Linked DNA regions of Homo sapiens: region 2 is linked to region 1. Evidence: promoter capture Hi-C in human tissues and cell types (Jung and others, 2019). All regions are on one chromosome and are shown on one strand. The core of a region is centred on a gene start or on the middle of the fragment in contact, and the rest is flanking DNA. Distances in the headings are between cores, read along the strand shown.

Region 1 (6,769 bases), core at 4,270-6,769:
ATAGACAGTGTTATCACTAGCAGACAGGACAAAGTAAGAAAGGTACGTAATAATTAATCTATTTGGGTGAATGTGGAAAGAAAAATACAAAGAAATATAACCAAAGCTTAAACAGCTATCACTGGGAAGTCAGAGATTTGGCTCCATAAAGAATGGTTTAGGGACCACAGAAGGTGGCCCAAAAGATGTACCTATGAGAGAGCTCCCAGCTGACGGGATTCATTGGCAGCATGAAGTGACAAATACAAATCTAAGCCATGGAGATATTAGTTCAAGCAATTTACCAAGTCGCAACTGTAGTACATACCTGTCATTGTTTTATTTTAATACAAGGGAGCAATTTCAATGTGTGTTTGTGTATACATGTATATGTTTATGTCGCACCTACTCCTTATTTTTTTTTTTTATTTTGAGACAGGGTCTCACTCTGTCGCCCAGGCTGGAGTACGGTGGTGTGATTATAGCTCACTGCGGCCTCAATTTCCTAGGCTTAAGCAATCCTTCTGCCTCAGCCTCCTGAGTAGACAGGACTGCAGGTGTGTGCCACCACACCCAGCTAATTTTTTTTTTTATTTTTAGTAGAGACAAGGTCTCACTATGTTGCCCAGCACGATCTCAAACTCCTGGCCTCAAGTGATCCCCCCACCTCAGCCTCCCAAAGAGCTGCTCAGCCTACACCTACTCTTTCTGAAAGGTGTTTCAGAGAAAGATTTCTACTGAGTGCTTTTTAAAAAATCAGTTATTGGCCGGGCACAGTGGCTCATGCCTGTAACCCCAGCACTCTGGGAGGCCGAGGTGGGCGGATCACCTGAGGTCGGGCATTCGAGACCAGCCTGGCCAACACGGTGAAACCCTGTCTTTACTAAAAATACAAAAAATTAGCCGGGCATGGTTGGCACATGTCTGTAATCCCAGCTACTCGGGAGGCTGAGTCAGGAGAATTGCTTGAACCCAGGAGGTGGAGGTTGTGGTGAGCCGAGATCAAGCCATTGCACTCCAGCCTGGGCAACGAGCAAAACTGTCTCAAAACAAAAACAACAACAACAAAATTAAAATTAAAAATTATCATCTTTAATCCCTACAGCTCTGACTTTCCAATCACTTCTTATGTGATGTGCTTTTTGCCTTATAAAACATTATATGACAAATTCACCAGTGGCTGGTGGGAATTGGACAGAATTCTATTTATGTGCCTTAAGCATAGTCATTCCGATTTGCAGAAAATAGTCATGTCCCAGATTTATTACTTATGTGTAGCTGTAATTTGTGAGCTGAAAATATGCTTGAAAATCTGTGATTCCTGAACAGTGGGTATTAATAGAAATTTATTTCACTATTGGTGTTAACTTTCGACAACAGGAGGATAATCGAGGCAGATATTTAGAAATGAAATATATCATAAAATATTAAGTTATTTATATTTAAATATGACAAATAATCCTTTATGCATTGAAAATTTGGGAAGTCTAAAAAGAAAAAGAAAAGCAATCAAGTCCTATCACTGGAGATAATTACTGCTATGATGGTGATGTATTTTCTTCTCATCTTTTTTGTCTGCTCATACATGTGAATGTTTTCACAAGGTTGTTGTGATCACATTACGATACAGTATTGTATCTCCACTATCTTTCTTTCTATTTCATTCACCCTTCCTGGAGTTGAGGCAGGAGAATAGGGTCTTGAGGCAGGGAACCTAAGGCTGATTCATGCTGACTTCCTAGAACTAAATTGAAAGGAAAACCTCAACTTTCCATGCCTAAGTAACAAAAGGACCAGAGGCTACTCCCTTTGTAACCTCCACCACCCCACCGCCCCTAGCCTTTTCTGCGTGGCAGAAACATCTGCAACCAATCAAACGTTTGCATAGGAGTGTAACTTTTGTAACTTCACTTCGGCCTCTCATTGGTTGCAGCAAGCAAAAGCAACCAATCAGACTGATTGCGGGCCACTACTTTATTTGCATGGGATGAATACCAAGTGGCCAGTGGGAAACCTCTAGGCAGTATTTGGACCCCAGAAGATTCTGTAACCAGGGCCCTTGAGCCACTGCTCAGCCAGGTCCCACCCTGTGGAGCACTTTCATTTTCAATAAATCTCTGCTTTTGTTACTTCATTCTTTCTCTGCTTTGCTGTGCATTTTGTCCAATTCTTTGTTCAAAAAGCCAAGAACCTGGACAACTTGTAGTCAAACCTTCTACTGGTAACAGTGTCACTAAATATTTTTCAAAAGCAAGATTTTTAAATAGCTGTATAATGTTGTAATGTGGCAGTACAATTATTATTTAGTCTTTCTCCTGCTATTAGAGTCAGCATTCATTCAGCAATTTAAGTACTATTGGGTGTGCTAGCAGATAAAGGTTTATTGATTATTGAAGATAATCCTTTTCTCAGGCATCACAGGTTGTAGGGGTAGGGACTGAACATTGAACTTCATATGGTATGGCTGTCTTAGGGGTACAGGCAGGGAGCTGTCAGCTTATAACTGGTCATTTAAACCACGAGGAAGTGAAGATGGCATTGCTCAGGGAAACAGGTAGGAAGCTAAGAGAAAAAGACTGAAGGTGGCACCCTGAGGAACACTCAATTGCATTGAACTTGAGATGCACTCAAATCTCTAGATCCCCATTTCCAAACATACATCTCCACTCATTTTTGTATGGACTTACTCAAAAAATTCAAAAACAGCCATTCTTCCTCTTGCCACCACATCCCTCACCCCTGAGATGCCAAGAACATGGAGCTTAAAAATTAGAGTGGTGGTCAGAGACGCCCCTGGGAGGAGGGCAAGGCTGGAAGCAAAGCCCATTCTGTGTGGCTTGTTCATCTTCCTTTCCCTTACATCATTGTCAGGTAGTCTGAGTTGTAATTGGATCATTAAACTTGTTCTGGGATTCCTTCTAAACTGCATGTGTCTGGCACATTTGCCCCACCTGCACAACCAGGAGCCCACCTGTCTAAGCACTGACTCCCCCTAACTCATGCTCCCCCTGTGCTCTCTTCTCTGCTGGAACCATCCTGAGCTGGGTCCCCACTCTCCTTCCACTATAGTATGGTACTTTTTCATAGGGCAGCCATTGACCACTTTGGAAACTAGACGTTCTGCTCTTCAAGCCCTTTGCCCCCACAACTCTCAGGGCTTGTTCTAGGTGGAAGCAGGAAAAGATGGGCATGCTAGTCCAGGACCCTCTATAGAAGGAATATCGGAGGGAAGCACAGGGTAAATCCATGGAGGCCCAGCCATGGAGGAGGAAATGATAGTCATAGGAAATGCCAAATGTCAGAGTGAGATTCAAGACATATTTGTTATTAATCAATTATGCAATGGTGTGATTGCATAAATAATGTGATTTTAGTTGGTTGTTTATTTGGGATGGAAATGTAGTCAGAAATTATTAAGTTGGTTATTGTGTCCCAGTACGCAATCTTTGAGTCAAATGACATTTGATTAGAAAATGTTCTTTCTTGTCTTACATTAAAGCTCTTTCCAGGGGCCTCAACAGGGGATAAAATATTGTGTTTTCTCAGAAATCTAGCAAATCAGAAGGTGAATGTTCATGATTATGATCTCTAAAGGAAAAGAAATTCTCTAATACAAGGTTTTGTTAAGCACAATGTTCACATAAGACATTTGAGGGAGAACCCCTTAAAAATAAGAGTTTAGGGCCAGGCACGGTGGCTCATGCCTGTAATCCTAGCACTTTGGGAGGCTGACGCGAAAGGTCAGAAGTTTGAGACCAGCCTGGCCAACATGGTGAAACCTCATCTCTACTAAAAATACAAAACTTAGCCAGGCATGGTCACGGGTGCCTGTAATCCCAGCTACTCAGGAGGCTGAGGTGGGAGAACCGCCTGAACCCAGGAGGTGGAGGCTGCAGTGAGCCGAGATCGCGCCACTGCACTCCAGCCTGGTGACAGAGCAAGACTCTGTCTCAAAAAGAAAAAAAAAAAAAAGAAAGAAAAAGAAAAATGAGAGATTATAATACCACAATGGATTCTTCACACAGATTATGCTATCCCTTGTTTGAAGATTTTCCAACATATGGCAAATTCTCTTTGTTTTTGGTCTTAACTGAGATTGGAAAAACTGAACTTAGTGTCATTTGAGGGAATTATTATAATGCAGTGTTTCTCAAACTTGGCTGTACATTATAATCACCTGGGGAGCTTTTATAAATCCCAGCTGTCCAGACCACACCATGGGCCAATTAAACTTTTCGGGTGCGACCCAGGTGTTTACCATGTGCAAAGAAGTTTGAAAATGACTAAAATAGGTAACTCTGAAGTCAAACTGCCTGGCTTCAAATTCCAGGCCAGCCACTTCCTAGCCATGTGACCCTGGGCAAGATATTTGATTTCTATGAATTCTATCAGAAAAAAAGACAATAAAAATAACATATTTTTGTAGGATTGCTATGAGGTTTAAACAAGATAATCTATGTAAATTATTTATTAATTTGCTGCAAAAGTAATCACGGTTTTGCCATTAAAAGTGATGGCAAACACTGCGAATCCTTTTCACCAACCTAACACAATGGGGCAGGCATATGTGAATTCCATAGGCTGGGCACAGTGGCTCACACCAGCACTTTGGGAGGCCAAGGGGTGGGGAGGAATGTGAACAATTTTCACAAGTTCAAGACCAGCCTAGGCAACATAGTGAGACCTCCTCTCTACAAAAAAATTAAAAAATTAGCCTAGTGTGATGGTGCATGCCTGTAGTCCCAGCTACTGAAGTGGGAGGATTGCTTGAGCCTGGGAGATGGAGGCTGCAGTGAGCTGTGATCGTGCCCCTGCACTCCAGCCTGGGTGACAGAGTGAGACTTTGTCTTAAAAAACAAAAAAATGAAGTTCTATGGTAATTATTATTAACTAACAGCTTTCTTATTTCATATTAATTACTCTGCAAGACACTTCCAGCATGGTTGCCCCATCTGACACTCATTCACCTCGTTGATTTTTTTTTGTTGTTGTTGTTGTTCTATAACATTCATTCATGCACAAATTCATTTTACAAGTATGTATTCATCTAACATTGACTTAACTATGAGTATGACAGAAGACACAAAAGAAATGTACACATCTGCCTCACCTCCCTTGGAGTTTATCTTCTCTAGTGTGTTCGTGTTTTCCGGTTCAGATCATAAGCATCATGAGCTAAGGGACCATGTTTTATGCCCGGACAGCCGTAGCACCCGGCGCTGCGGATTGGAGACACTGCTAGGCACCCGGGCTGGAAGATTGGGTTCTAGTTCTTGTTTTGCCGCTTACAGGCTGGGTGACAGGGAGCAATCCTGTTGTCCTCAATAGGTGTGTTTCCTCATCTGAAAGTGTACACAATCCATCCATGACTGCTGTGACGATTACAGGTCTACACAACGCGCATGTGGATTTGTCTTGCAAACGTCCACCATCAGGCCCTCAGGAAACAGTGCCGCGCGTGCCCACCAAGGGGCAGCAGATCGCAGTGCAGAGGCCCGCGGCGCTCGACGTCAGGGCGCACGTCCCACCCCGTGACCATGACTGTGACCGTGACCGAGAGCGTCGCTGGGGCACGGCCAGGCGGCGCGGCGGGAGTGCACAGGACGCGCCATGGCGGCCGAAGCCTCGGAGAGCGGGCCAGCGCTGCATGAGCTCATGCGCGAGGCGGAGATCAGCCTGCTCGAGTGCAAGGTGTGCTTTGAGAAGTTTGGCCACCGGCAGCAGCGGCGCCCGCGCAACCTGTCCTGCGGCCACGTGGTCTGCCTGGCCTGCGTGGCCGCCCTGGCGCACCCGCGCACTCTGGCCCTCGAGTGCCCATTCTGCAGGCGAGCTTGCCGGGGCTGCGACACCAGCGACTGCCTGCCGGTGCTGCACCTCATAGAGCTCCTGGGCTCAGCGCTTCGCCAGTCCCCGGCCGCCCATCGCGCCGCCCCCAGCGCCCCCGGAGCCCTCACCTGCCACCACACCTTCGGCGGCTGGGGGACCCTGGTCAACCCCACCGGACTGGCGCTTTGTCCCAAGACGGGGCGTGTCGTGGTGGTGCACGACGGCAGGAGGCGTGTCAAGATTTTTGACTCAGGGGGAGGATGCGCGCATCAGTTTGGAGAGAAGGGGGACGCTGCCCAAGACATTAGGTACCCTGTGGATGTCACCATCACCAACGACTGCCATGTGGTTGTCACTGACGCCGGCGATCGCTCCATCAAAGTGTTTGATTTTTTTGGCCAGATCAAGCTTGTCATTGGAGGCCAATTCTCCTTACCTTGGGGTGTGGAGACCACCCCTCAGAATGGGATTGTGGTAACTGATGCGGAGGCAGGGTCCCTGCACCTCCTGGACGTCGACTTCGCGGAAGGGGTCCTTCGGAGAACTGAAAGGTTGCAAGCTCATCTGTGCAATCCCCGAGGGGTGGCAGTGTCTTGGCTCACCGGGGCCATTGCGGTCCTGGAGCACCCCCTGGCCCTGGGGACTGGGGTTTGCAGCACCAGGGTGAAAGTGTTTAGCTCAAGTATGCAGCTTGTCGGCCAAGTGGATACCTTTGGGCTGAGCCTCTACTTTCCCTCCAAAATAACTGCCTCCGCTGTGACCTTTGATCACCAGGGAAATGTGATTGTTGCAGATACATCTGGTCCAGCTATCCTTTGCTTAGGAAAACCTGAGGAGTTTCCAGTACCGAAGCCCATGGTCACTCATGGTCTTTCGCATCCTGTGGCTCTTACCTTCACCAAGGAGAATTCTCTTCTTGTGCTGGACACAGCATCTCATTCTATAAAAGTCTATAAAGTTGACT
Region 2 (7,630 bases), core at 4,295-6,794, 100 kb after region 1:
CTGGGATTACAGGCGTAAGCCACCATGCCCAGGCTTCTTCTCAGTTTTTCTGTGTCAGACATTTCTGGCTCTTGGTTAGACAATAGGAACCCAAATACCTGCCTCATTGTAAGTCCTTGGTCAAATCCTTCATTATCTCTGATCATTGTTTCTGAATCTATAAAATGGGACGTATTATCAGAATGCTTTGGTTGACATCAAAAACACGACAGAAAATAACGTATACAGCCACCTCAGGTTCATATCTATTTTAACTACTCCAGTGCAAAACAATCCTCTCTCCAGGAGAGACTCTTAGTAGTGCAAATGAACTCAGATGTTGCTATGGTTTGGATATGGTTTAGCCCTGCGAAGTCCCATGTTGTGATTTGATCCCCAGTGTTGGGGTTGGGGCCTGGTAGGTGGTGTTCTGGTCATGGGGTGGATCCCTCGTGAATGGCTTAGCACCATCCCCTTGGTGATGAGTGACTTCTTGCTCTTAATTCACTCAAGAGTTTAAAAGAGCATGGTGGCCGGGTGCGGTGGCTCACGCCTGTAATCCCAGCACTTTGGGAGGCCGAGGTGGGTGGATCATGAGGTCAGGAGATCGAGACCATCCTGGCTAACACGGTGAAACCGTCTCTACTAAAAATATAAAAAATTAGCCGGGCATGGTGGTGGGCACCTGTAGTCCCAGCTACTCGGGAGGCTGAGGCAGGAGAATTGCGTGAACCCGGGAGGAGGAACTTGCAGTGAGCCAAGATCGTGCCACTGCACTCCAGCCTGGGTGACAGAGTGAGACTATCTCAAAATAAATACAAATAAAAGATCATGGCATCTCTCTTGCTCCCTCTCTCACCATGTGACACGCTGGCTCTCCTTCTCTTCTGTCATAACTAAAAGCTTCCTAGGGCCTCACCAGAACCCAAGGAGATGCAAGTGTCATGCTTATACAGCCTATGGAACCATGAGCCAAACAAACTTTTCTTATAGATTACCAGGCCTCATGTATTCCTTTATAGAAACACAAATGGACTAAGATGCATGTCCATTCCTGAGACAATCAGTGTGGCTGGTGGGCATCCATCCACATTTATAGTCAGACAGGAGGGGACACCACTATTGATGTCCCCACTGGCACTACAGAGTAGAATGGCTTTCAAGAAAGGATGCTAGCGAATAAAAACATATGTATCTGCCAGGTGCAGTGGCTCACGCCTGTAACCCCAACACTTTGGGAGGCTGAGGTGGGCGGATCACAAGGTCAGGAGTTCGAGACCAGCGTGGCCAACATACTGAAACCCCATCTCCACTAATGATACAAAAAATTAGCCGGGCGTGGTGGCAGGCACCTGTAATCCCAGCTACAGAGGCAGAAGAATAGCTTGAACCCAGGAGGCAGAGGTTGCACTAAGCTGAGATCGCATCATTGCACACCAGCCAGGGCAACAGTGTGACTCAGTCTCAAAAAAAAAAAAAAAAAAAAAACATATGTACCATATAATCTATTTCCTCTACCTTTGAAACCTCACTGTATCTGCTGTCTATTGCTGCCTAACAAATTATCAGTGATTTAATGACTTAAATGAAGACTAACTGATCTCAGTTTGTGTCAGGAGTGTAGGTACAGGTTGAGTCCTCTACTCAGGGTGTCACTAGGCTGAAATATGGTGTGGCTGGGGCTGTGATTTCATCTGAAGCTCATGGTCCTCTTGCCATGGTCATTCAGGTTGTGAGCAGAATTCAGTTCCCTGGAGTTATAGAGATGAAGTCCCCACTTTCTTACTGGCTACTAGCCAGGGACCACTCTCAGTTCCAAGAACCACTCTCATGTTAACCATGAGCCCCTTCCATAGCAGTTCACAACACGGCTGTTTCTTTCTTCCAGGCCAGGCCCGTTGGAAGGTCTCTGTGATGCTTCACCATCTTGTAAAAGGTCCAGCTAATTAGGGCAGGCTCACCCAGAACAATCTCCCTTTCGATTAACTGAAAGTCAAGTATTCTGTAGCCCAATTACGGCAGTGATATCCCATCATAGTCACGAATCCTACCCACACTCCAGTGGAGGGAATTATATAAAGCATGTTCACCAGTGGGTGGGAATCTTGAGTGTCTTTTTAAAATTCTGACTTCCACAACCACTGATGGAAGTAACCGAAAAGAGGCGGCAAATCCTCAGAAGAGACAACAGTGGATGAGAGGTGTCAACATATCTGTATGCCTGCCAAAAATGAGTGCTGAGAACCACAGACAATCTCAGGGTGTAAAGAAGCAAGGTATTGCTGAAGGCAGGGCTGTAAAAGGGCTCAAAATTGGCATAATCATTGAAAATCTATTTAAAAGGCAATGAGACCCTCCCCGGGTCCCCTTGCTCACCCCTGGAAGGTAGGCAAGTCGTCTTCTCCTCACTGTCCCCAGAAATTTATTCTCTAAAGAAATCTGGCCAGGGGCAGTGGCTCACACCTGTAATCCCAGAACTTTGGGAGGCTGAGGCAGGCAGATCACGAGGTCAGGAGATCGAGACCATCCTGGTTAATATGGTGAAACCCCGTCTCTACTAAAAATACAAAAAATTAGCTGGGCGTGGTGGCATGTGCCTGTAGTCCCAGCTACTTGGGAGGCTGAGACAGAATTGCTTGAACCCGGGAGGTAGAGGTTGCAGTAAGCTGAGATCACGCCACTGCACTCTAGCCTAGGCAACAGAGCGAGACTGTCTCAAAAAAAAAAAAAAAATCTGACCAGAACTTCTCTAGGTAAGAACATTGGTACATTCCAAGGGAGATACTGTTAAGTGAATATCTACACGCAGCATCGTGAGACCCTGCATAAATCTCTTTCCTTGTCTTTCTGCCAGAAAGTTGGCAGTCAGGCTCCTATTCTTTAGGAAGAAAATTGGAGAGATCTTCTCTATAGAAAATAATCCCAGAAAATAAAATTTCTACAAGCTGACATTTGTGTGTCATTCTGGTGTGAAAACCCTTGGCACATGATCACCCTGTTCTGAGGGCCACAGGTTGAAAAGCAGCACACACACACACCCCACCACTTCCAATCAGCCCTTCACCGCTCTACCTGCCATCAAGTGAAAATGATGTAGTCAAGACTGGCCTTGAGCGGTCATAAAAGCAGCTATAATTTGCATGACTTCCACACCACCTACTCCTGCTGCATGGCTGCCTTTCCTCAACCGATACCTATGGCCTCCAGCGTTCCTAATAGGTAATGGACTGGGGAAAAATAATTCAAGTATAGTTTTATTTTCTCTGGGTTATTTTGTTTGTTCCCTTCCCCACTCTCTTCTATGACCACTCCTGAGTGGTACCCAAAATGTTGCAGCTATTCAGCTGGTGCCAGCAAATCAGCATATTGTATAAAGGAATTTGCAAACCATACTTGAATTATTTTTCCTCAATCCTTAGGAGGCCGAGGAGGGCGGATCACTTGAAGTCAGGAGTTCAAAACCAGCCTGGCTACGTGGTGAAACCATCTCTACTGAAAACACAAAAATTAGCCAGGCTTGATGGGGTGCACCTGTAGTCCCAGCTATTCTGAGGGAAGAGGATCGCTTGAGCCCAGAAGGTGGAGGCTTCAGTGAACTGAGACTGCGCCACTGCACTTCAGACTGGCTAACAGCACGAGACCCTGTCTCAAAAAATAAAGCTGTTATTTTCCTTCCTTTTGCCTTTTGAATTCTGCTCACCATAAAATTAAGCCAAATACTTTTTTGAGGGGGCAGCAAAAACTTGTCAGATTTACGAAATTCATTAACAGCAGCATTCTCAAAGGAAAGGTTTGGAGGCCTGCCATACCTTAGGCTTGATCAAAGCAGATGAAAACCTCAGCCCAGTAATGTTCTTAAATTCATAGCTCAATTGGATTATACATAAAGGTGTCATTCTTCGGAAAGGCTATTTTTCAAACCCTCTAATGAAAAAGCTAGGGAATATTGCTATCAATTCATCCTTTCCTCTTCAAGCAAAGAGCATTCCTCTGCTTTAAACAGATGGGGCTCTGTGTGACAAACAGCAGTGTTCCAGGGAGCAGCGATGGCACTGACATCTTGTACCCAGTGTTTATAAGCTGGGTTGTCCCTCTGTTTTCATTTCCTTTGACTAGACTAGAGCAGTGTTTAAGATTCAGACAATGGAACGGCAGGGTGAGTCCCAGTCATCCTCACATTCCAGCCATTCTTTATGATAATGAGCAGGGTGAGCGCCTTCGAGGAAGGATTCCAGAGAAGGTAGGAGGAGCGGAGGAGGAAAGAACAGCAAAACCTTTCTAGCCCAGCAATGTCTTCGTGCTCACTGTATTACTAGCTCAGGCACTGAAGCTGCAGTTAATTGCTATTCCCAGGGGATTCAGCTGGTTTTTTTGTTTTGTTTTGTTTTTTTGTTTTTTTTCCCTCCATTTACAGAGGCAGCTATAACAAAGACCATGTGAGTGCATGCGCACACACACACCACTGTTCCTGTGTTCCCAACTGATTGCTGACCGGCTTTCGTGAAGCCCTCACCTTCCCCATCATTATCACAAAAAATACCAGTTATCACCGAATGAAAATCATCTGTCTCTTAAGGAACAGACAGGGTGTTTGCTGTTCTAATGACTTCACCTGCACTGTATGGAGCTTGGAATATGATTAATGTTGCATCAGTGTCCCCTTTGGCAAGCTCTTGCAGACAAGGGCAAACTGCCACAGCTGTCTTCCAAAGATGGTCTCTACTAGATGACAGTAAGTGGGAAAAAGCAAATTCATTTTAGAGCAAAGGGAAAAGTTTACACTTCTAAACCTGCAATTTGTTCCTATGATGTTGAAAACTCTTCGTAGGTATTGTGGGTGGATTCGAAACCAATCACATTTGCATATTTCTGCATGTAAACATCTTTGAGTGCGTTTTTCCTTTCTGCCTGACACCTTATACAAAAAAATGCCACTTAATAATGACTATTTTCCAGATCCTTATTAAATGTACATGATCTTCAAGCACTCAGTCCTCAACAAACGTTTATTAAACTCCTATCACTTGTCAGCCAGGTTCTGAATGCTGGGCTTGGGGGACTCTTGCCCTCACGGAGCTTCCAGTCTGGTTACTTACCACGCCCAATTAGTACGGGATCCAAATTGCATGAGGTCTGGAGTTTATACACTCGGGGTGCTCATTAAGAAACTTAAGTTTACTGTGCCAAGTATTACTTAGCGTACAGAATTTGCAAAAAGCTATAAAAAAGGCACATCTAAATGAAGGACCTGAGGCTTAAGCTTCAAATGTTTCACAGTAATTCCTTTGATAGCAACGTAGGTAAGATTTTATCTCAGTTCTACAATTAAACACTGGGGCTGGGTGTGGTACCTTACGCCTGTAATCCCAGCACGTTGGGAGATGGAGACAGGTGGATTACTTGAGACCAGGTGTTTGACACCAGCCTGGGCAACACGGCAAAACCTCATCTCTACAAAAAATACAAAAAAAGTTAGCCAGCCAGGGTGGTGCACACCTGTAGTCCCAGTTACTCAGGAGGCTGGGATGCTAGGCTTATGAGTTCAGTAGGCGAAGATTGCAGTGAGTCATAATTATGCTATTCTACTCCAGCCTAGGCAAGAATAAGGGCCTGTCTCAAAAAGAAAAACTGATGTTGCCAAACGTGTGGTAGCACACACTTGCAGTCTCAGCCATTCAGGAAACTGAGAAATGACAGTGCGCTAACAACCCTCAGCCCTCTCACTCACTCACGGGGCCTTCTAGGCCTCGGCACCCACCCTGGCCCTCCTTGAGTCGCTTTTCAGCTCGCTGCTGCACGGTGGGAGCTCTTCTGGAATAACTGAGGCCCAAGCCGACTCCCTCAGCTTGCAGGCACGTATGGAGAGGCGCAGGCAAGAATCAGGCCTGCAGCAGCCCTTGCAAACCAGCTCGAGTTCCGGGTGTGCAGGCCTGGGCTCTGCCACCCCGCACTCCCGGAGAGTTAACAAACACTGCTGGCCCTCAACAGAAAATTTACACTCACACCAGTAGCTACAAAGGACGCAGAGTTCCCCAACGGCCACAATCAGGTTTTTGGTCTGACTTACAAAAATGAAACTGCAGACCCTCACAGTGAGCATTACAGTTGTAGAAAGTAGTGTCTCTGAAGTTTTTTCTTTCTGGCGGGTTTACTATCTTGCTGGCTCAGGAGAGAAATTACAGACCTTAGCAGTGAATATTACAGCTCTCAAACCAACACATCAGCACTTACTTATTTCTCTTGGCGGATTCACACTTTTATCACTAACTAAAAACATTAAAGCTACAGATCTTCGTGGCATTACAATCCATAAAACCACAGCAAACAAAACTCAAACATCCAAAGCACTTAATCCTACACATACCAAGATACTAAACGTTTTCATTATTTACTACTACTAGTTCTAGCAGCCTGCTTTTATTCTCTTACCTGGCCCCACCCACATCCTGCTGATTGGTCCATTTTACAGAGCGCCAATTGGTCTGTTTTACAGAGAGCTGATTGGTCCGTTTTGACAGGGTGCTGATTGGTGTGTTTACAATTCCTGAGCTAGACACAAAAGTTTTCCACATCCCCACTAGATTAGCTAGATACAGAGTGTCCATTGGTGTATTTACAAACCCTGAGCTAGACACAGGGTGCTGATTGGTGTGTTTACAAACCTTGCGCTAGACACAGAATGCTGATTGGTGTATTTACAATCCCTTAGCTAGACATAAAGGTTTTTTCTAAGCCCCCACTAGACTCAGTGAGCCCAGCTAGTCTCACCTAGTGGATCTCTTATCAGGGCTGCAGGTGGAGCTGCCTGTCAACCCCGCGCCGGACGCCTACACTTCTCAGTGTTTGGGCGTTTGATGGGACTGGGCGCCGTGAAGCATAGGGGCGGCGCCCGTCGGAGAAGCTTAGGCCGCGCAGGAGCCCACCGCCAGGGGTGGACTATATGGCGGGCTGCAGGTCCCGAGCACTGTCCTGCGGCGAGGCAGCTAACGCTTGGCAAAAAATCGAGCGCAGCACTAGTGGGCCAGCACTGCTGGGGGACCCGGCGCACACTCCGCAGCTGTTGGTCCGGGTGCTAAGCCCCTCTGCCCGGGGCCGGCAGAGCCGGCCAGGCCGCTCCAACTGCGGGGCCTGCCAAACCCACGCGGAACTCTAGTTGGCCCGCAAGCGCCGCGCGCAGCCCTGGTTCCCGCCCATGCGTCCCCCTCTACACCTCCTTTGAAGCCAAGGGAGCCGGCTCCCGCCTCGGCCAGCCCAGAGAAGGGCTTCTCCAGCGCTACCAGAATGGCGCTGAGGCAGAGGAGGCACGGAGAGCAAGGGCTGAGAAAGCTGCCAGCACGCTGTCACCGCTCAGCAGTGCCGGCCCGCCGGCGCTGCCTCGAATTTTGGCCGGGCCTCAACCGCCTCCCTGCGGGGCAGGGCTCGGGACCTGCAGCCTGCCATGTCCGAGCCTCCCCCCCGCCGCCGTGGGCTCCTGCGCCTTCGATCCTCCCCGACAATCGCCGCCCTCTGCTCCATAGCGCCCGGTCCTATCGACCGCCCAAGGGCTGAGGAGTGTGGGCACACTGCGCGGGACTGCCGGGCAGCTGCACCTGCGGCCCCGGTGCGGGATCCAGTAGTTGAAGCCAGCTGGGGTCCTGAGGCTGGTGGGGAG

What was found. The method cuts DNA at HindIII sites, captures the fragments that hold promoters and counts their contacts. A contact is called where the count stands out against the background at its distance.
Region 2: a fragment that was not itself captured here is called in contact with the fragment with the promoter of NHLRC1 in region 1 in 3 of the 25 tissues and cell types used here (IMR-90 fibroblasts, aorta and small bowel).

Annotation. Positions count from the first base shown.
Region 1 is chr6:18,121,427-18,128,195 of GRCh38, reverse strand. It overlaps NHLRC1 (NHL repeat containing E3 ubiquitin protein ligase 1), which reads left to right and starts at 5,519. Exons shown (of 1, transcript NM_198586.3): 1 at 5,519-6,769. The coding sequence starts at 5,590. The HindIII fragment of the contact is 9,942 bases long and covers 1-6,560 here.
Region 2 is chr6:18,019,579-18,027,208 of GRCh38, reverse strand. No RefSeq gene overlaps it. Among named protein-coding and RNA genes, the nearest start is that of KIF13A, 36 kb to the right of the region's middle. RefSeq lists an enhancer at 3,996-4,949. The HindIII fragment of the contact is 4,966 bases long and covers 3,062-7,630 here.